Linked DNA regions of Homo sapiens: regions 1, 2, 4, 5 and 6 are each linked to region 3. Evidence: promoter capture Hi-C in 16 types of primary human blood cells and fetal thymus (Javierre and others, 2016). All regions are on one chromosome and are shown on one strand. The core of a region is centred on a gene start or on the middle of the fragment in contact, and the rest is flanking DNA. Distances in the headings are between cores, read along the strand shown.

The links. Contacts are between HindIII fragments. The CHiCAGO score rates a contact against its expected background, and 5 or more counts as called.
Region 1: a contact is called between a fragment that was not itself captured here and the fragment with the promoter of PACC1 in region 3, in 1 of 17 cell types (fetal thymus). The highest score is 5.3, in fetal thymus.
Region 2: a contact is called between a fragment that was not itself captured here and the fragment with the promoter of PACC1 in region 3, in 4 of 17 cell types (fetal thymus, monocytes, total CD8 T cells and 1 more). The highest score is 8.1, in fetal thymus.
Region 4: a contact is called between a fragment that was not itself captured here and the fragment with the promoter of PACC1 in region 3, in 1 of 17 cell types (fetal thymus). The highest score is 7.0, in fetal thymus.
Region 5: a contact is called between a fragment that was not itself captured here and the fragment with the promoter of PACC1 in region 3, in 1 of 17 cell types (naive B cells). The highest score is 5.2, in naive B cells.
Region 6: a contact is called between a fragment that was not itself captured here and the fragment with the promoter of PACC1 in region 3, in 1 of 17 cell types (total B cells). The highest score is 5.9, in total B cells.

Annotation. Positions count from the first base shown.
Region 1 is chr1:211,738,473-211,741,938 of GRCh38, reverse strand. No RefSeq gene overlaps it. Among named protein-coding and RNA genes, the nearest start is that of NEK2-DT, 64 kb to the right of the region's middle. The HindIII fragment of the contact is 760 bases long and covers 1,619-2,378 here.
Region 2 is chr1:212,994,344-212,997,863 of GRCh38, reverse strand. ANGEL2 (angel homolog 2) reads left to right here. Exons shown (of 9, transcript NM_144567.5): 8 at 546-709; 9 at 2,672-3,520. The coding sequence ends at 2,823. Among named protein-coding and RNA genes, the nearest start is that of ANGEL2, 20 kb to the left of the region's middle. The HindIII fragment of the contact is 2,093 bases long and covers 434-2,526 here.
Region 3 is chr1:212,412,933-212,416,209 of GRCh38, reverse strand. It overlaps PACC1 (proton activated chloride channel 1), which reads left to right and starts at 1,324. Exons shown (of 8, transcript NM_018252.3): 1 at 1,324-1,488. The coding sequence starts at 1,453. RefSeq lists a silencer at 1,613-1,672. The HindIII fragment of the contact is 5,506 bases long and covers 1,039-3,277 here.
Region 4 is chr1:213,016,074-213,019,342 of GRCh38, reverse strand. No RefSeq gene overlaps it. Among named protein-coding and RNA genes, the nearest start is that of ANGEL2, 1.8 kb to the right of the region's middle. The HindIII fragment of the contact is 881 bases long and covers 1,149-2,029 here.
Region 5 is chr1:211,514,870-211,518,358 of GRCh38, reverse strand. No RefSeq gene overlaps it. Among named protein-coding and RNA genes, the nearest start is that of RD3, 24 kb to the right of the region's middle. RefSeq lists a silencer at 2,672-3,031. The HindIII fragment of the contact is 1,961 bases long and covers 369-2,329 here.
Region 6 is chr1:211,694,493-211,697,746 of GRCh38, reverse strand. No RefSeq gene overlaps it. Among named protein-coding and RNA genes, the nearest start is that of NEK2-DT, 20 kb to the right of the region's middle. RefSeq lists an enhancer at 1,989-2,488. The HindIII fragment of the contact is 3,743 bases long and covers 30-3,254 here.

The sequences.
Region 1 (3,466 bases), core at 749-3,248, 670 kb after region 3:
ATGCATGACTGATTGGCTCTTAGAATTTCAGAGCAAGTAGTCACCTTGTTTTGGGATGGCAGATTTCACTCTGATACAATTTTGGTGCATTGCTGGTAGCATCAAATGGCTACTTAGTAGAATTGTGGGGACTAGAATCAGCTTTCTTTTATTTGCATTCATATATTTTCCCCAAAACAGCATATTGCTTTGGTTCAGATTTATGTATTTCGTAAATAAGAGTGAAATCTAAAGGAACAAGTATATTTGTTAAAAGGGCGATGGATCTAGAAGCTAAAGCTTCCATAACATCCTTATCCTCAATTTTAATAATCCCAAAACCCCAAAAGATAATTTTTATTAATGTTCCTCTCAGCTGCTGCAGAGATACAATTAACCATGAAAAAAGCCCTGAAATTAATTATTTTTTTTTTTTGGATGTGGAAGTGAAGTGCATTTTAAAAATTTTGCCCTATATAGTAGAAGATAAAAAGAACATTTTTATGTTAGACCAAAGGGGATACAGATTTCAATCTCATAATAGTTTCTTTCTTTTCTGAATTCTAGTGTGGAACTAGAGTAGGTAATAAATTCTAGGCCACGATGGCCACTAGTGCCCGAATATCCCTCTGTCATGGCGCCATCAAGTGTTAAGGGCTTGTCCAAGTAGGAGCCCAGGAGCAGCAGAACCGGGGACTTCAATTCGACCTTGGCCCTTTGGCAAGTTTCTTATCCTCTCAACCTCACTCTCCTTATGTGTTAAATGGGAAACGCTCAAAGACTTCTTTTTTTTTTTTTTTCTGAGACGGAGTCTCACTCTGCAGCCCAGAGTGCAGCCGCGTGATCTCGGCTCACTGCAACCTCTGCCTCCCGGGTCCCGGTTCAGTGATTCTCCTGCCTCAGCCTCCTGAGTAGCTGGGACTTCAGGTGTGCACCACCACACCTGGCTAATTTTTGTATTTTTATTAGAGACGGGGTTTCACCATGTTGGCCAGGCTGGTCTTGAACTCCTGACCTCATGATCCGCCCACCTTGGCCTCACAAAGTGCTAGGATTACAGGCGTGAGCCACCATGCCTGGCCAAGACTTCTTTTCAGTATTAAGTGAGATTATATACAGGAAGCACATAAGACACTGGCACATTGTACTGAATGTGCAGTAAGGAGGCTGTGTTTATCTCACCCCAACTGGGTTTAACAGAGGATGTAAGTTATTCTCATATTGAGATGTGCCTAAACTGCAAGTGATGTGTTCCATGCATACCCAATGCAGTGGCTCATGCCTATAACCCCAGCACTTTGGGAGGCCAAGGCAGGAGGATCACTTGAGCCCAGGAGTTTGACACCAGGCTGACAGGAGATCAGCCTGGCCAACATGGTGAAACCCCGTGTCTACTTAAAAAAAAAAAAAAATTAGCCAGGCATGGTGGTGTGTACCTGTGGTCCCAGCTACTCGAGAAGCTGAAGTAGGAGGATCACTGGAGCCTGAGAGAATTGAGGCTGCAATGAGCTGTTATCATGCCCTAGGTCTCTTGGTTTTTAAGTTAGACACATGCAATCAGCATAGCCAAGTCCCTAACCCCACACAGTCAGACTATATTTAATATATCTAAGGCTCCAGACAGCAGTGAGAAAAAGCTTTGAGGTTGGAGCGCCAATTAGGAAGGTGAGGAGACGGGGGCATAAAGAGGAAATCAGATCTACTAGACAAGACATTACATAGGCTTAATAGGGACCTATTTTTGCTTCTGAGACATGATGTCACTTGTGGTGAAGACCTTGAACTAATTATCAAAATGGAGGGAAATATAATTTCTAGTATTTGGAAGCTGTCCACCAGCCCACGGTTCTCTGTATAATTCATATGATTCTAAATATAAAACTACATTGAAAGTGTCCTAATGCTTCAGGAAATTGAAAGTAATTTTGAAAACCTTTCTCCTTTCTAGTTGCAGAAGTCTCAGAAGTTTATATCTTGAGAATTGACACTTTACCTTCCAGTGGTAAGTTCTGGGTGCTCAGTTCTTAGTGGGTATCAGAAGGAAGTGGGCAGATTAGAATAAGATATTGCTTATGGCTATTGAGGTTATCATGGTAGAGCACAAAGAAACGAGGCAAAGCTGGATTAGCAGGTGTGTATTCGAAACTCTGCCCTGCTGGGGGTGGGGGTGAGGAGATGAGAAGCAGGTGATGTTTCAAAGCCCCATCTGGCCCTAAGAGCCTTTGATTCCCCAGACAAATATCCAACAAGCTGTCCAGCCCACCATTCACGGAACTTCAGAGTAACACCAGAAATTGGGAATTCCAAGAGAGAGAGGCTTCAGGGCCATGATGAGGTTATGGAACAGTTCTCTTAGAGAAGATTTGGAAATACTTCAAACCATCATCTGGTGGGAAGCTTGGCATAAACAGCAACTCATGGATATGGAGATGGCTGCTCAGGCATTACGATATTCAGAGTGGTTCTGGGCTAGCTTATTATAAAGAAGACCCGTCCTTGTTTTCCCAAAGGATGGCTAGAAAAAGCAAGGGAATGAATGAGTTAATGAATGTGGAATTAATAAAGCATTTCTTCTTGGAGGCAGAGAAATGGAACAGCTGATTACTGAAAGCCAGCCTTCAGAATCTGTGCCATGTCCGATCAGGAATAATAATTGAAATTGTCATTGGAGCGATGTCTGAGGGATGCAGAAACCTGGTGTCACAGGAAGCATTGCCTCAGACTCTGTCTTCCTCTTTATTAGGCCTTGGAGAGGAAGGACAGCAGGGTTACCTCACCAGCCCAGCTCCAGCTCCCCTTCACCCCCCGCCCAGGTACCTGTCTGACTGCAGCAGGAGATTCTAGCACAGAGGGTGCCAGCAAGCAGGGGTGCTCAGAGGGTTTCTCATTTGAAAGGTATTTACTGTTAGGGGAGAGTGGGAGGAGAGGAGGGGCAGGCATGGGTGGGCAGAGCATAGGTACTAGGAATCTGCAAACCACAGACAAGAAGCAAGTGAAAGTAAAGATCTGAGGGTTTGCTGTAAGCTGCATTAGCAGGAGGAGCACTGGGCCTGTGGGAGTGGACACATGTGTCTCCTTCCAGGGGCTCCTGCCACAGCCTCAGCCTCAGACATCTCAAGGCTCAGTGTGTGTGTCTGTCTGCCAGTGTACCCCAGGGGGGCCTCATGGTGAGGCTTCCTCTGCCTGGGTTGCTCCTGGCATGGGCTCCAGCTTTTCCCCTCAACCCTGCAGCCCACTGGAAGACATAAGCTAAAGCTGGTGGGGACCTCCACTCTGGGTACCGTCCCTGCCCATCCCCTCTGGCAGTCGCTTTCCTAACTGACAGGTATTGGTGAAGTGCTCAGGATGTTCTTGGTGGGCGTATTTCCTCCAGGTGGGGGTGGCGTAAAAGCCACAGCCTTTTAGAAGCCTCTGTTTCTTTCCTTGACTGGCACTTTAAAAGGTGTGTGCTCTACCGTCATCACTAGGAGAGGGAGGCTCTGTGATC
Region 2 (3,520 bases), core at 231-2,730, 580 kb before region 3:
ATTCATAAAGTATCACTAGAAAATAGTCTTTAAACCTTTTACTCATAACATCACATATATTTGTGCATGGGGCAAATATAATAAACCATTAGAGAAGCTGTTTTAAGATGCAGTACAAAATTATATGTGATAGCAAGAAAAATTAGAGAAGAATATGGCCTCTCTGTCATCAAAAGTCTAGAGGATTCCAAATAGTGTTCCTGAAGACCCCCTTGATTCTCTTTCTTAAAAACACAATAAAACTTGTTAGAATACATGTTCTTTAGTAAGTGGAGGCATTCACACGTTATAAATAATGAAAAAACACATTAGTATGTTAATTATTGAGCTTTTTTTAAAAACCACATTTATAATGGCTTTATTGATGGGTTTTAGATATCACTGCATAAGTAAATTAATACTAAATTATGATATGGTCTTTTTAAATAAAGCTTGTCCTAATGTTTGGTCTTAGTCTAGAAATTAAGTGAAAAAGAAATTCAGATAGGAGGAATTCTTGAAGTTACAAAAACTCGGATTCTAAACACTTCTTCTTTTCTATTTAGATTGTCTTCAAATTTACAGCACCATTTCAGTTTGTCATCTGTTTATTCACATTACTTTCCTGACACTGGAATTCCAGAAGTGACCACCTGTCATTCCCGAAGTGCCATAACTGTGGATTATATTTTCTACTCTGCAGAAAAGGAAGATGTTGCTGGGCACCCAGGTAAGGAATGCATGTAATCTTAAATTCTCCTAGAGAGCACAGTAGCTAAAACCTCAAGGTTAAAGTTAAGAAAGCTCTCTAAACATCCAGTTGAAGTTCTAGATCTAGAAGGTAAAAATATTTCGAAATAGACAGATTGGTAATATATTTGAATAAATCAGTTGATTACTTGCATATGAGGGAGGCAATAAAACACATCCAAGCAAATTATTACCCAAGAATTACATTAGCAGTCCTACCCTCCAGTTCCAGTCAGCCTCTGAGTTATAGGTCTTTCATATTGCCCTTTCTTTTTGCTTGCCATAAATTTACTGTTTTTCCTGTGACAGGAACTGAGTATGTTGTTAATGGTCATCATAGTTTTGTGCTTAAATTTTACCGAGGCGTCCTGCCTTCATTGGAGGACCATAGTTACACTGCCAGCAACACAGCTTATGCTGTCATGTTGACTCTGGAATATTGGATTTTTCTGAGGAGGAAAAGTATATATATATATATATATATATATATATATTTTTTTTTTTTTTTTTTGGATACAGAGTCTCGCTCTGTTACCCAGGCTAGAGTGCAGTGGCATGATTCTCGGCTTACTGCAACCTCTGTCTCCCGGGTTCAAGTGACCTTCCCACCTCAGCTTCCCGAGTAGCTAAGACTACAGGCATGAGCCACCATGCCCACCTAATTTTTGTATTTTTTGTAGAGACAGGGTTTCACCGTGTTGCCCAGGCTGGTCTCAAACTCCTGGGCTCAAGCCGTCCACCTCGGCCTCCCAGGGTGGCTTGGATTACAGGCATGAGCCACCACATTCGGTCAGAAAAGTCTATATAATTTTTTTGTTTGTTTGTTTTTGAGACGGAGTCTCGCTCGTCGCCCAGGCTGGAGTGCAGTGGCGCTATCTCAGCTCACTGCAAGCTCCGCCTCCCAGGTTCACACCATTCTCCTGCCTCAGCCTCCCGAGCCACTGGGACTACAGGCGCCCGCCACCATGCCCGGCTAATTTTTTGTATTTTTAGTAGAGACGGGATTTCACCGTGTTGGCCAGGATGGTCTCGATCTCCTGACCTCATGATCTGCCTGCCTCGGCCTCCCAAAGTGCTGGGATTACAGGCGTGAGCCACTGTGCCCGGCCGAAAATCAGGTTTTAAACATTAGCCAAAGGATTTAAAGTGGAGAAGAAAATGCAGTTTAAGATTACTGGAAGTACAAAAATACCTTTAAGAAAACTTTGGAATGTGAGCAGCTGTTTTATTCTTTTCTGATTTTTTTCATTTTTTTCTCTTCCATTTTTTTGGATGCTTCTTTTTCTTTACCCTTTTCCCCTCTGTTTGTTCCCCCCTCCTTTCTTCTGGGAATAACCTTATTAGTAACACTCACGAGATGACTTATTCCTGCCACTAGATCTACTCTACAAAAAATATGCCTGCTGCTTTGAATTTATAGTAAGGTTTTCGTAGTTGTCATGCTGACAGAAGTTCACTTGGTGGCAGGAGAGTGTTATGGATCAGCATTTCAAAAAGAGCATGTCATCTTCACTTCTGTGGGTGCTGACTATCTGGGACTAAATTATACTAATTTATTCTCCATTCACCTTATAAACTGCTACAGGGCTGTGGCCCGGTGTCTCTGGCTTTATGCAACTACAGAATGGTTGCTGGATGAGTTTCTTATGTAGTTGTCAACCACAAATTACCCTTAACATTCTTAAGTATTTCATTTATATTTTCTTCTAAAGATTGTTTACAGAGCTGGAAATAGAAAAAATATCTCAAACTGCTGTGTGTTTGATAATTATAATTAGGTTATAATTCAATAAAGCTTAGATATTCTAAAAACTGTGTCATAGTTTTTAGTCTTCTGGAGGGGCCTCAAGTTCTATATTTGTTTGGAGAAAAGACTTGTATGATTAATTTACAATAACCCGTTGACAATTTTACTAAATATGTGTGTGCTTCTTTAATGTAGGAGCTGAAGTTGCTTTGGTTGGTGGCTTGAAACTTCTAGCTAGACTGTCACTTCTTACAGAACAAGACTTATGGACTGTTAATGGACTTCCAAACGAAAATAACTCTTCAGATCATCTGCCTTTATTGGCAAAGTTCAGACTTGAGCTCTGACTCTCTTTGATCACATACTAATTTTCTTTCCAATTTGTATTGTTTTTCAAAGAATGTAAAGTTCTTAAGTGTATGCATGTTGTTTATTTTTGCACTGTGGAGATTCTGAAGCGGTTATGTTAGATGCTTTGAAACTCCATATCAGAAGAAATAACTTTATAACAATTTTTTTTAATAATGAAAAATATTTTCGTGACAAGTGAGCTCTAAATTCTCTTTATTGTAAAAGAGATGTAAAGGTTTTATATTCTAAATCCTAGTAAAATTGACAGTGATTTTTAAATATAATGCATCTTCCTTTGTCTGCTTAGTAAAAAATTTCATTTCATAATTTTGGCAAGCTCTGTAGTGGATCCAAAGTATCTTTGAGTTCTTGCAAACTACAAGTTGTTTCCTTTCCAGAAGGCTTGATTTCATTAGGAGACCCCTCTATTGAGTTCTAAATAGTTTATCTTAGAAAGCCTTGGGTCATTCACAGGTATCCAACCAGCCATTGTTTAGTTTGTTTTTGAAGGGGTTTGATAATGCTTTTTAAGTTGTACAGAATGCTTAATCCATCTTATTACTGTCCTGAGCCATGTAATATGCCTGCATCGTGTTGGGGAAATGTTTGGGAAATATAAGCCAGCATAACGTGTAAAGCTCACTCTTTCACCCTGGAACAGACAAGAGGTGGGCTTAATAGAGGCAGAGACTG
Region 3 (3,277 bases), core at 75-2,574:
TCTCTGGTTCCTTCCAGCTCTAATATTCTATGATGGTGTGAACTTGTTCTATCAAGTACCATTGTATTAACACAGTAAGGAATTTAATTAGTGGTCTGCTATTGTTAATTTGTTTTGGTAAGCAACTGTTAAATGAAATGGCTGGAATCAGTGTTCCATTCATAAATTTAACAAACATTTGTCGAGTGCCTACAATGTGTTAGGCACTATATATATTGTCCCATATAACAGATTTAAGAGCAGAGGGCCTAGGATAGGGGTGAGTGGTCAGGAGAGGTGATGGGGACCTCCCATTGCTAATGCTCCAGGAGGTCCAGGGTTCTTTGATGTGGCTGGCACTATTCTGCTTATCACTGAGGAGAGAAGAGGCTCCCAGTGGCCTGAGTGGAGGGGTTACCAAGCTGCAGCTGCAAGGGACACAGAGCAGCATTCACCAAGGCACAACAAGCAGCCTCTATCTGCTTCACCACTGAGGAGCCGAGGGCCCTCACACAACAGCTGTTTCAGGCAGTGGGAGGAGAGGAAGATGTGGTCTTCAGGTCCACCCTGCCACAGGGCCAACACCAGATTTGACGCCACATCTAGCGCTTGAGGCTTCTTCTGTGGCTGAACAGCGGCTTTAGGCTTTCTCTGCACGATCCTTCCTTTCTGCTTTCATAGGCCTTGTCAGGCAGGGCAGGGTTTAGCAGTTGCATTCTAAGGCGAGGAGAGGAGGGCTCAGAGCATTGCAAGACCTAAAGGGGAGGGTCAGAGCCAGGACAAGAACCTAGGGGTACTCCTGCCCCTGGAATAATGGAGAGAACATGGGCTCCGCAGTCTACCCCTGGATGAAATAATCTTCATTTGATTACCGCTCCACCCGCATCCTTTCTGAAACAAAGTACCTCAGTTTCCTCATTTGTAAATTAGGGAGAAAAATGTCCTTCTTACAGGGTTCCTTGCAGAATCAACGGCATAATGTGAGTGAGAGCGCTTTGTAACTAACATACAAAGTGCTCTCCAGACATTTATTACCGTTTTAAACCGCCAGGCCAAGCTTCCTCTTGCAATTATAGATTAGGGGCTCCTACTCATCTGACTTTGTTCCACTTTCCACTCCTCTTCTCCGTCCCTCCCCCTCCAACAAAGAGAGGAAGTGAGAGACGCAGAGGCACGCGTCTAAGGACCAGCTTAGCTGGCCCAGGGTCACATGCAGGCCTCCGCCACAGGGGTGAGAGCTGGTGTGAGGGGCGCCCCCGCCCAGAACTACATTTCCCATCAACACTTTCGCGACTCCTGGGCGGCAGCGGCCAGGCGCATGCGCCGAGTATCGCCACGCCTGGTCTCTGGGACGCCCCTCCGGACCGGTTTCGCCTCGCGGAGCCGGTAGGTCCAGGTGCAGCGGCCGCAGTGCTGCGTCCGTGCGCCGCGGGCTGGGGCGGTCTCAGGTGTGCCGAAGCTCTGGTCAGTGCCATGATCCGGCAGGAGCGCTCCACATCCTACCAGGAGGTACGAGGTTGTGAGAGACGGAAGGGAAGTTTGAGGCGGAGGAGCAGGGTCCCGGGGGCCTGGGCGGATGCGGGGCGGGGGGTGTCGGGGCTGCGCGGCAGAGGGCTCTTCCGAGGGACCGACGGGTGCGTCAGGGGAGGGCTCCCGGGGTGCAGAGGAGCGGCCCAGGGGCAGGAAGGAAGCGGGGCAGCGGAGCGGGCGCCCAGCGTTCTCCGTATGCTGCGGGTTGCATGGCCGAGGTCCGGAGTAGGGTCCCCGGCGCCGCGACCCGTAACCAGCAGGTGAATGATTGAAGCTACCTGAGGCCCAGCCTTCCGCGCTCCCCGCCGGAGCGGCAGCCCAATGGCCCAGAGGAACCCGGCGTTCTTTGCAACAAGTGGAGCGCCCGCGCCCTCCTCCCGGCGAGATCTGATGCGCGGTCGGCATCGTCGGCATCCTCCCCCTCCAAGCCCAAGGCCTCGCTGTCCCCGCGGCTGGTGACAGGATTGATTACCTGTTTTTTGGTGACCACCTAACTTTGAAAAAGTGCCTTCATGGACTCTGCTAGTTCTCGCTCCTCTTCGTCTCTCCCTCCAGTCTCACCTCCTCCCACGACTTTATCACTTTCCAGTTCTTTGTCTCTTCTCTGTCCTGCGCTGCAGGCTGTGCGTCCAGCGCTTCCTTCAAGCAAGCCCTGCCTCCTCACTTCTCCAGCTGTATTAGTGAAACTGCTCTCCTCCTCCGCCTCCACTTCTCGGCCCCCAAACCTTGGTCATCTTTGGCAACCGTCCTCTTCTGTGCCCCTCCATCGTGCCGCCTCATTGGCCAAAGTCAGGCAGTTCCAGGTCGGTCCTCCTCCAGTTTGTGTCCCTGTGTTTGCTGTAACCTCTGAGTGCGATACTGTGTTACCATCGCTCCCTTTAGTCTCTTATACTCTCCAGATTTGCCTTGAGGCCCTGCCTTCACCTCGGAGCATTCCTTTTTTCTCAGACCTGACGCTGCCCTTCGTCTGCCCAGAACAGTCCAGACTTCTCAGCAGGCTCCCAAAGCTCTGAACAGCACAGCAGCCATGTCTCCCATTACCTTTGCCACCTCCTAACCCACCTAGGGTCTGGCACAGTGGAAACTCAGTTTTAAAATGTGCTCCTGCCTCTGTGCGTGTGCTCACTCCATTCCTTCATCAACGCTCCGCCAAGCTCCATTGGGTAAAATGCCCCCAGAAGTCAAGGGCTACCTCAAGTTCCATGTGTTCCATAGGGGTCCGCTTTCCAGACCCGTCTGCATTTCTGTCTGTCCTTCTCATAATGAACTTGCTGCCTTCTGTCTTAGTCAATAGTTACTGCTGTACATATCTCCCTTTGTAAAAGACTGATTCACAGAAGGGCTTTGTGGACTATATAAAGCAGGTGGCTTAGCCCTACAGTGGAGGGAGAAGCCAACTTGAAGGCAGATGAGATTTGCCTAAGGCTTGCCATTTTTTAGTGTAGGATCTTGGCTGGAATCTGGCCTTGGACAGATTTCTATATTTCTCCTCCCATCCCCTTTATTCCATCTGTTTCCTTTGTCTGAAAGGAGTCTGAGGGATTTTAACCAGTGCTGTGGATTCCATGACCCCTAGATTCTGTACCCTAAACAGTGGGGGAATCCTGGGGAATGAGATGTGTCTGAAAGTTTTTAGGTTTATAGGGTGTGGAGCACAGTGGATAAAAGTCAGAAAGCCCACGTTCGTGCCTGGCTGTGCCTCTTGCTGTTTGTGTGACTTTTATTGAGTCACATAACTTTCTGAGCCTCAGTTTCTTTGTCTGAAAGA
Region 4 (3,269 bases), core at 340-2,839, 600 kb before region 3:
GGGCATCTTGGTGGGAACTACTGAACTTTTAAAAGATAATTTTCCAAAAAAAAAAAAAAAGGTAAAATCATGACTCTCAAACAGATATAATACGAACACATTAGTCATTTTATTTTATTTATTTTGAAACGGAGTCTCACTCTGTCACCCAAGGTGGAGTGCAGTGGTGCGATCTTGACTCACTGCAACTTCCGCCTTCTGGATTTAAGCGATTCTCATGCCTCAGTCTCCCAAGTAGCTGGGATTACAGGCATGAGCCACCACACCCAGCTAATTTTTGTCTATTTTTAGTAGAGACGGGGTTTCACCATGTTGGCCAGGCTAGTCTTGAACTCCTAACCTCAAGTGATCCGCCTGCCTTGGCCTTCCAAAGTGCTGGGATTACAGGCGTGAGCCCCTGCACCCAGCCATTTTATTTAACTCATTACATAGGTGAACCAGACAGATGTTATCACCTGTTCAAAGGAGAATCCAAAGAGCAGACATGTTTATAGATCAGAAATATTGATCTTGCAAATGGTGCAAAACTGGCTTTTTTGTTGTTGTTGTTGTTTAATTTATTATTATTATTATTATTATTATTATTATTATTTGCGATGGAGTCTCGCTGTGTCGCCCAGGCTGGAGTGCAGTGGCGCGATCTCGGCTCACTACAACCTCCATCTCCCAGGTTCAAGCGATTCTCCTGCCTCAGCCTCCTGAGTAGCTGAGATTACAGGCATGCCACCACACCTGCTAATTTTTGTATTTTTAGTAGAGAACGGATTTCACCATGTTGGTCAGGCTGGTCTCGAACTTCTGACCTCGTGATCCTCCCGCCTCAGCCTTTCAAAGTGCTAGGATTACAGGTGTGAGCCACTGCAGGCAGCCAAAACTGGCTTTTCCATAGAGATGGAGAGTTCTCCCCCCAACTAGGTAGAATTATTTTACAAGTCCATAGACAAAAATCATTTGCACTGCCACAAGCGCCCTGCAAGTTAACTTTAATCTTTGCAATAGTCTAGGCCCAGATAAAGGCAAATATCTTTTAGGATCAGATAAACCCCCAAATTCCAACACTGCATGAAAAGATATCTATTAATTTCTTTTACTTATTTAAAAATGTTACATTTCTCCTTACCTCTTAGGGTGTGCTAAAGGAAAAAGCTTCTGGTCATTCACAAGTCCCAAGTTCTGGCCCACTGTTAACCATTCATTCAAAAATATTTTTACTACTATATATTGTGTACTTAGCACAGCACTAGGTCAAGTAAATTTTGGAAATAATGAGTCATGGTCTTTCCTCAGAAGTTATTTACAATCTCATTATAAAGACAAGACATACAGTAAACTACTAGTCAATTTAATGAACTACAAAATTGTGAGTACAACTAGAAAATAGGGCAGTATAAAACAGAAATACAGTCTTTCTCCATTATTTGTGGATTCCATATTTGCAAATTTGCCTACTTGCTAAAATTGATCTGTAACCTCCATGTATTCTTGGACATGTACAGAGCAGGGAAAATTTTTAATTGCCCAAAGTGCACATTCCCAGCTGAGGCTAAACAAGGCATTCTCTGCCTTTTTGTTTCAGCTCTCATGCTATACCATAGTGTCCCCTTGTTGCCAGGGCTGGAGTACAGTGACACTATCTTGGTTCACTGCAGCCTCGCCCTCTCGGGCTAAAGTAATCCTTTCACCTCAAATTCTGGAGTAGCTGGGACTACAGACGAGAGCCACCATGCCCGGCTAATTTTTGTATTTTTTGTAGGGACGGGGTTTCGCCATGTTGTCCAGTGTGGTCTTGAACTCCCTGGCTGAAGCGATCCAGCCGCCTTGGCCTCCCATATTGCTGGGATTACAGGCGTGAGCCATCAGGACCAAGTGTCCTTTTCACATTCCATTTAGTGATATGTTTTTCACGTTTTTGTACTTTTTGTTGATGTTGCTGTTTAAAATGGTCCCCAAGCGTTGTGCTGTATAGTGCTCCTAAGCACAAGAAGGCTGTCATGAGCCTTGCAGAGAAAATAGCAGTGTTAGATAAGCTTTGTTGAGGTATGAATTATAGTGCTGTTGACTGAGTTCAATGTTAATGAATCAACAATATATATTAAATAAGATGTCTTTAAGCGGAAACACACATACAACAAAACTATGTATTGATTAAGTTGATGAAAATGCGACCAGAGGCTTACAGGATCCTAATCCTGTATTTCCCTTAGGAGTAATGATTCAGTATTTACTAATTCAGTGTTTCCAGCAACTTTACAGAACCTAACTACTGCAAATAACAAGAATCAATTACATACTGAGGGAAAGGTTTTTTTCAAATACACTTTACTTCCTTTTATGCACCAGGGATAAGAAAAGCCTTCCCAAGAAATTACCACTGTTTCAAAGAGCCTATAAAAGCAGTGCTCCTGCCTTCTAGTATCCTTTTCCCCTCTACTCTCCACACTTTATTCTTTCTCGGTTTCTCTCTTCCTGTTTCTTGCAGGGTCTCCACTTAAATAATGTCTTTCAACAATCTACAGTCCTATAATACATTTAATAAAGGTGGACACACAAGACATACAAGTACTTTTTTTTTTTTTTTTTTTTTTTTTGAGACGGAGTCTCGCTCTGTCGCCCAGGCTGGAGTGCAGTGGCTCGATCTCTGCTCACTGCAAGCTCTGCCTCCCAGGTTCACGCCATTCTCCTGCCTCAGGCTCCCGAGTAGCTGGGACCACAGGCGCCCGCCACCACGCCCGGCTAATTCTTTGTATGTTTAGTAGAGACGGGGTTTCACCGTGTTAGCCAGGATGGTCTCGATCTCCTGACCTCGTGATCCGCCCGCCTTGGCCTCCCAGAGTGCTGGGATTACAGGCGTGAGCCACCGCGCCCGGCCCATACACGTACATTTTAAAGTGAGAGCTATGGCTGTGCTTCCGCAACATTAATTGCAAAATTCTGTGGTACCTCAGTTCCATGGGCACCCAGAGGATGCGTTGTTCAGCCTCAGCTGGGAATCTGCACTTTGGGCAATTAAAAATTTTCACTGCTCTGTTTATTTCTGCCGGGCGCGGTAGCTCACTCCTGTAATCCCAGCACTTTGGGAGGCCGAGGCGGGCGAATCACTTGAGGTCAGGAGTTCGAAACCAGCCTGGCCAACATGGTGCAACCCTGTCTCTACTAAAAATTCAAAAATTAGCCGGGTGTGGTGGCTCATGCCTGTAATCCCAGCTACTTGGCAGGCTGAGGCAGGAGAATCGCTTGAACCCGGGAGGTGGAGGTTGCAGTGAGCCGAG
Region 5 (3,489 bases), core at 100-2,599, 900 kb after region 3:
TCGTTGCATGGAAAACTGCCCTTGGGCTCCAAACATGGTATGCCCAGAGGCTGAGCTTGGAAATGGGTGAACCTTGGCCCAGCCTGGCTAAGAGAGCCACTCGGGGGCACATGCGTACCCTTGCCCTGCTCTCTGCGGGCTGGCCTATGGCCAGCAGGTGCCCAGTGAGAAGATTGTACTCCAAGGGATCCAGCCTTTTACACAAGTTATAAGATGAGGAAGAAACATGGCTTGTGTCTTTGGGAAGTTCTCAGCCCAGTGGGAGAACTGTAACATGACAAGACTAACCCTGTATTTGGGGGCTTCCGCCTGATGTGTCAGCCCCAGAGGGACGGCATGGTAACCCACTCTGTACCAGATTTTAAGCTTTATTCCCAAACCTGCTTTGCTTCCCTTACCAGCTCTTTTACCTTTGTCTTCCATGTTCCCAGTTCATGTTGACCACCTGGGCTGGTTCACTACCACCACACCTGGGAGTGAGAGAAGCCCACCTTCTCCCACTGGCTCAGCCACTCAATTGCCTGGAAGGCATTGTCAGGCAAGGGTGGCCTGCATCTCTACCTCAGCAAAAGCCTCCAGGAAGCCAAAATTAAAAGCGAGGCCAGACCAGGCAACAGTGGCTCACGCCTGTAATCCCAACACTTTGGGAGGCCGAGGCCGGAGGATTACTTGAGCTCAGGAGTTTGAGACCAGCCTAGGCAACATAGTGATCTGGAGTCCATCCAGGTCCCAGAAGGTGATGAGGTGGTGGAGAGTGATACTTGGAACCCATCTCAGTAAAAATCGTAATAATTTTTAAAAGAGAGAAAGAAGAGTGAGGCTGGTTCCTGCTGTACCCTGGAAGTGGTTTTTTCCAGGCGCCTCTTTTTCCAAATTATCAGTTTGAGGCTGAGAGGGCAGGTAAGGGAGAAAGTGACAGTGAGCTAGGCATGGGGAAGTGGCAGCAGGTTGAAGCAGGATCCTGAGAAGACAGCACGGAGGGGCCCTGAGCTGGCTGGGCAGGTGTGGGGCTAGGAAGCCACACCCAGCTCAGTAATTCCCAGGGAGCTTCTGGGAGAACCTGGGCTCAACAGGGAGATCACAGGGCCTGCTGAGGCCATATGGGTGAGGCCTCGCCCTTCTTCCTGCTTCCTCCACCATGCAGTTCCTGCCTCTCCTCCCCCTTCACCTTGCATCCCTCCTCCTCTGCAGCAGCCCTCCTGCTCACACAGTTTAAGAAAGGCTGGTGCTAAGCCTGTGTGCACCACAGGTGGCGTCATGGGCAGGGTCTTTCATGATTTTTCTGCTGCCACTGAGAAGACGGATCATCATCTTTCAGGCAAGTTTGTAATAAACATTTAACGAATGAATGGGTTAGTGATGAACATTCGTTATCTAATTTGAACCCTTTACCAACCCTTTGAGGTAGTCCACACAGTTCCTATTAGTGCTGTTTACAGCTGGGGAAACTGAGACTCAGAGAAATTATGTGTCATCACGTAGGTATGCAGTGACCAGCTGGACTCAGAACCCATGACCCTAGTTCTTGCACTAATGTCCACTGCCTGTCTCTTTCACCCACCTGCACCCTCACAGCTACTCCTTGGGGTTCAGAGGGGGATGACTGGGGCGGGAATAGCAAGGACACAGGCATCATGGGGGCAGATTTGACCACACTGGCTCTGGGCTGTCAAGACAGCCAATCTGGGCTGCTGTCTCTGGCTGCTGTTATGGCTTCATTCCCGGGGCCACTCCACTTAATACAGGGACAGTACTTCAGGTCCGTCTGCCCAGTGCAGTCACATCAGGAGCACCACGGCAGCCGAAGTGAAACCTGGCCAGTCATAGGCAATAACCTTTGACCTGCTGGCAGGTGGGTGTTAGGTTAAATGTTAAGTGACCGGCCGGTCACGGTGGCTCATGCCTGTAATCCCAGCATTTTGGGAGGCTGAGGAGGGCGGATCACCTGAGGTCGGGAGTTCAAGACCAGCCTGACCAACATGGAGAAACCCCATCTATACAAAAAATACGAAATTAGCCAGGCGTGGTGGTGCATGCCTGTAATCCCAGCCACTGGGGAGGCTGAGGCAGGAGAATCGCTGGAACCCGGGAGGCGGAGGCTGCGGTGAGCCGAGATAGCGCCGTTGCACTCCAGCCTGGGCAACAAGAGCGAAACTCCGTCTTTAAAAAAAATTGTTAAGTGACCTCAACTATGTGGCCATGGGGAATTAGAGAGAGTAGAATAGAATCCCCTGTGGGTTGCAAGTGGGAGATGCTGGGATTTTTGAGCATCTTTACTGGTGATCCCTACGGCTGAATTAGGAGAGCTCTCCTGGCACCCGGGAAAGCTTTAACCTCTGGAGTGGCCTTCACAGGAGACAGCCTCAGGATGCTGGGAGAGCCCCTGACCCTCCACAACCTACTACCAATTCCTGCGCGCCGTTCCTTGGGCATGAGGTCCTGAACCTGGTGGAGGAAGGGTAGCAATGCCTTCCATTGTATTGGTTACATGCTTCTTACAGTCAATTAATTGGTTCGATCTTTTCCAGACAGTGCCGGGCTAGAGGCTGACCTTCCCCACTCCCGACCTTGGCTTCTTGAATAACCTCACAGGCCACGGGGCATGCGGGGTGCGCGTGCGTGGCTGGGCCGGCGTAGTCAGCCGGGCGGGAAGGTTTACGGCTTTGGGGAGGCGCCGCCTTGCCGCCCTGACACCGCCCCGCCAGGCCAGCCCGCCGCTCGGTGGCCCCGCCGGCTTCCCGCGGTCGGGACGGGCGCCCCCTGCTGATTGTGGGCGGCGGCGCACCGAGGAGCGGCCCCTGGGAAGCCCAAGACCTCGCCGCGGCTCGAACCCCGCGACCCTCGGCCCGGAGGGAGGTCCTGGCTGCGGGGAGCTGCCCAGACCGCGGTGACTCAGCTAGGTGGCACCGGGAGAGCTGAAGCGGGCGCCCCGCTGGGCCTGGCCACAGGACGGTTAATGATTAATGTTCCATACCGGGTGGAGACGTCGAAGGGGAGGGAGGCCCAGGGGCGCGTCTTGGCCCTGGCTGTGCCTGCAGGAAGCAGAGGCCCAGACGGGGAGAGACTCAGGCCTGGGCTGAGGCGGCTGGGGGCAGGGGAAGGAGCAAGCCGTGAACTCTCTCCTCTTCCCACCCCGCACGCCGCCCCCGTTCTCGATGCCCTTCTCCCCTGCCCCGGGAGCCTCCAGGCGCCGCGCTCCTCCTCCCTGCCTTACCAAATGCCCATCCGTGCCCGCCTCGGTGCCAGGCACTGCAGGCCGCTTTCATATAAATGACTGATTGCCTCTTGCCCATTTTACAGATAAACGCAGAAAGCTCAGGTGATGTGCCCATGGGCTCTCAGCTCACAGGCAGAGTGGGGATTCGAACCCAGCCCCGGACACAGACCAGGTGTCCTTCTACTACCCCACCCATTGCTGCCCAACTCCAGAGACACCTACACCCCAATCTACCAACTTAACCACCTGGGCAGAGGAAATAAGAGGCGGTA
Region 6 (3,254 bases), core at 652-3,151, 720 kb after region 3:
TCTAGTGCTTTACTGGCTTCCCAAAAGCTTTGGGCTAAGTTCAAATGGGGGACTCCCCTGGAAGTGTGCCTCAAAAGCAGATGTCATCCACACTGTGTTTCTCAGCAGGAAGTCTCCCCACCAGCACAGCTGTTCTCCACTGTGACAAGCATAGGAGCCCCCAGGGACTGTGCTGAAGAGCAGATTCTGATGAGCAGGGCCGGGTGGGGCCTGAGAGTCTGCATGTCTAATAAGCTCCCAGGGGACACCTTGTTGCTCTCCAAGGACCACATGTGAGGGTCTACACCACTTACTGACAATACTGCTCTAGCTATGACCAGCTGGAAAGGCTTCTGAAGAGGAGCTTCATAGCTAAGCTGACCAACCCTCTTGGTTTTCTTGGGGCTGAGAGGTTTGCCCAGACTTGAAACCTGGGATGGTCCCAGGGAGACCAGAATTCTTGGTTACCCTGTGCACAGCTGTGGCCCAATACAATTAGTTTAGGTAAAGCCTTGACATAGACGCCTGAGAAAGGCTCAAGAATGCTTACAAAGAAACAAACAAGGCATTGTAAATCAATCTAGTGTAGAAAAAATACTCTTAAAGCACCGAGGGAAGGTAGATTAAATTCAAGGTCATCATGAAACTGAGCTTCTTGAGAGCTGAGTTCTGAGTGGGATGGGATAGAAAAGGGATTAGGGAATGATCTAGGTTGGGATGAAGGAAAGGGCTCCCATTGCTATACATGCCCGCTTTGGTTAGCGCTGATTTCATGAAAAGCCAGGTTCATCTGAGTTGTCAGAACCTACAAATCATATTCAAGTGTGTGCTGTCATATTTGTATTAAATTCCTGTATCTATATATTTTAGGTCACTTTCTCTCCCCAAAAGCCATGGCAGTTAACCTGGCCCTAAACCTAAGTTGCCCTGGCCTCCCTGCCCAGGTGCCTTCTAGAGAATGTCACATAATGCAGTGGTTTAATGGACTTCCCTGGTGACCACAGCCCTGGTCTGGATGTGGTCCTGTCTGCCCTGCCATGTGCCATGTGACCTAGGTAGAAAGGGAGTCAGTGTCTACCTGTCTGTGCCTGTCCTCCTGCCCTTACAGGGATGGCTGAGGCATGAGGGCTCTGACAGCCCTGGAGACACACAGAACCTCACCAATATGGAAGAGTCTGGGAAAACCTTGGGGCCACCCTGAGAAGGCACTTCACAACAAAGACTGCACACAGTACTTTTTGGAGGGCAGCCATATTCTGGCCTATGGGTTTGGTTCCTAGAACTCGAAGTATGTGGGTTTCCTGAGTGTGTAAAATCCTGAGAGATGGTAATAAACCACACCCTTTGGGATGAGGTACAGAGAGCCTTCATATTTATAAAATATATGAGGCCAGGCATGGTGGCTCACACCTGTAATCCCAGCACTCTGAGAGGCCAAGGTAGAAGCATTGCTTGAGCTCACGAGTTTGAGTCCAGCCTGGGCAACATAACGAGAGCCTGCCTCTACAAAAATAAAATAAAATAAAAAGTTAGCTGGGCATGGTGGTGTGTGCCTGTGATCACAATTATTCAGGAGGCTGAAGTGGGAGGATTGCTTGAGTATAGGAGTTTGAGGCTGCAGTGAACTATGATTGCACCATTGCACTCCAGCCTGGGCAACAGAGTGAGACCGTGTCTCAATTAAAAAAAAAATATATATATATATATATATATGTATGCATGTATATGTGTGTGTATATATATATATATACATATGTATGTATGTATGTATGTGTGTGTGTGTATATGTATATATGTATATATACCGCTTTATTTCTTTAGCAGTGGTTAAGATTTGAACTTTGGAATCAGGCAGAACTGTAGGTCCAGCTCTGGCATTTTCTCACCCTCTAGAGCCTGGGTTTCCTCATCTGTAAAATAGAGATGGTAACAGTGCCTCCTCTTCGGGGCCTCTGGGCCTTGGCCGTCACACAATGCTCCTCCAAGAGCAGCTATGTTATCACTACTCTTATCTCACAGACAGCTGGAGGAGGGTCACGGGGGCAGCGGGCGCTCTGCAGGAGGCCTCCTTTAAGGGCAGTTGTCATTAGCACGCTGTTAGCAATGGGAAGCTCCAAGATGCTGCCAAACCACTTGAAAAGATGTGTTAGAAATCCCCATTTGGTAAAGAACAAAATTCTCAGTTCACAGAGCTTAGTCAATGCTTTTGTTGTCATTGTTGTTAATAAATGCTTTATTTTTGAAGAGTTTTAGATTTATAGAAAAGCTATAAAGATAGTACAGAGTTCCCATTTCTCACAGGGGTCCTGCACTGGCTCCCTGCTGGGGCGGGCTTGCAGTAGTCCAGTGGTTCAGTTTTGGTCTGGCTTCCTTTTTTCTGTGGTGACTGTCTAGCCCACAAGCTGAGTTATGGAGATGCTGCAGCTTTTCTGTTTGTAAAAATGACCTTGATCCCCGCCTACACTCGTTTCCTCTGTGTGCACAAACACACATGTGCACAGGCCCACCCACAGCATGCGGTCATGCAGTGTGAGGAGCACACCCACTGAGCTAGGCTCAGGTGACCCCTGACTGCTACCCCTTGCAGACCCAAGGTCGATCAGAGCCCCTGCAGAGGAAGCACTGTTACCATCTCGTGGCTTCTGGATGGTCCAGAGGGGGCTTTCTTGGAGATAAGTGAGCCAGACCTCCAAGAATCTGTAGGGTGGGTGGGCACATTTGGGTGTTCTCTTTTGCAGATGAGAAGTATTCATGGTGGCCTGAGGCTTGAGGCTTAAACACTATGAGCCTCAGTTTCCTTTTTTGGAAAATGGGAATAAACCAATGCTTCAGTCCTGGGAATGTGGTGAAGAGTGAAGGAGAAGCATGAGTAGCACCGGGCCTGGCACGGATGAGTGCGGTGCTTTTATCATTCCAGCTGTGTGGACCACACCAGCCACACCAGGTGGACATGTGGCCTCAGCTCACCAGATTCTCCTGCCCTCTGCCTCTGCCCAGGGTGGAGGGGAGTGAAGGCAGTGCCACAGCCCGGTACAGACCTGAATCATTGTATGCTTGACAGGCTCCAAGGCCTCCTTAAGTTAGGTCTTCACTCTGTGTACCATGACATTCCTCCAGAAAAACAAAAGTGCAAAGAACATCTTCTAATTTAAAACATGTTTTATGGTCGGGCTTGGCGGCTTATGCTGTAGCAGGATGAGCCGCAGACAAAAGTCCTCAAACTCTGAATTAAAGAAGGAAGGGGTTTATTCGGCCGGGGGCATTGGCAAGACTCC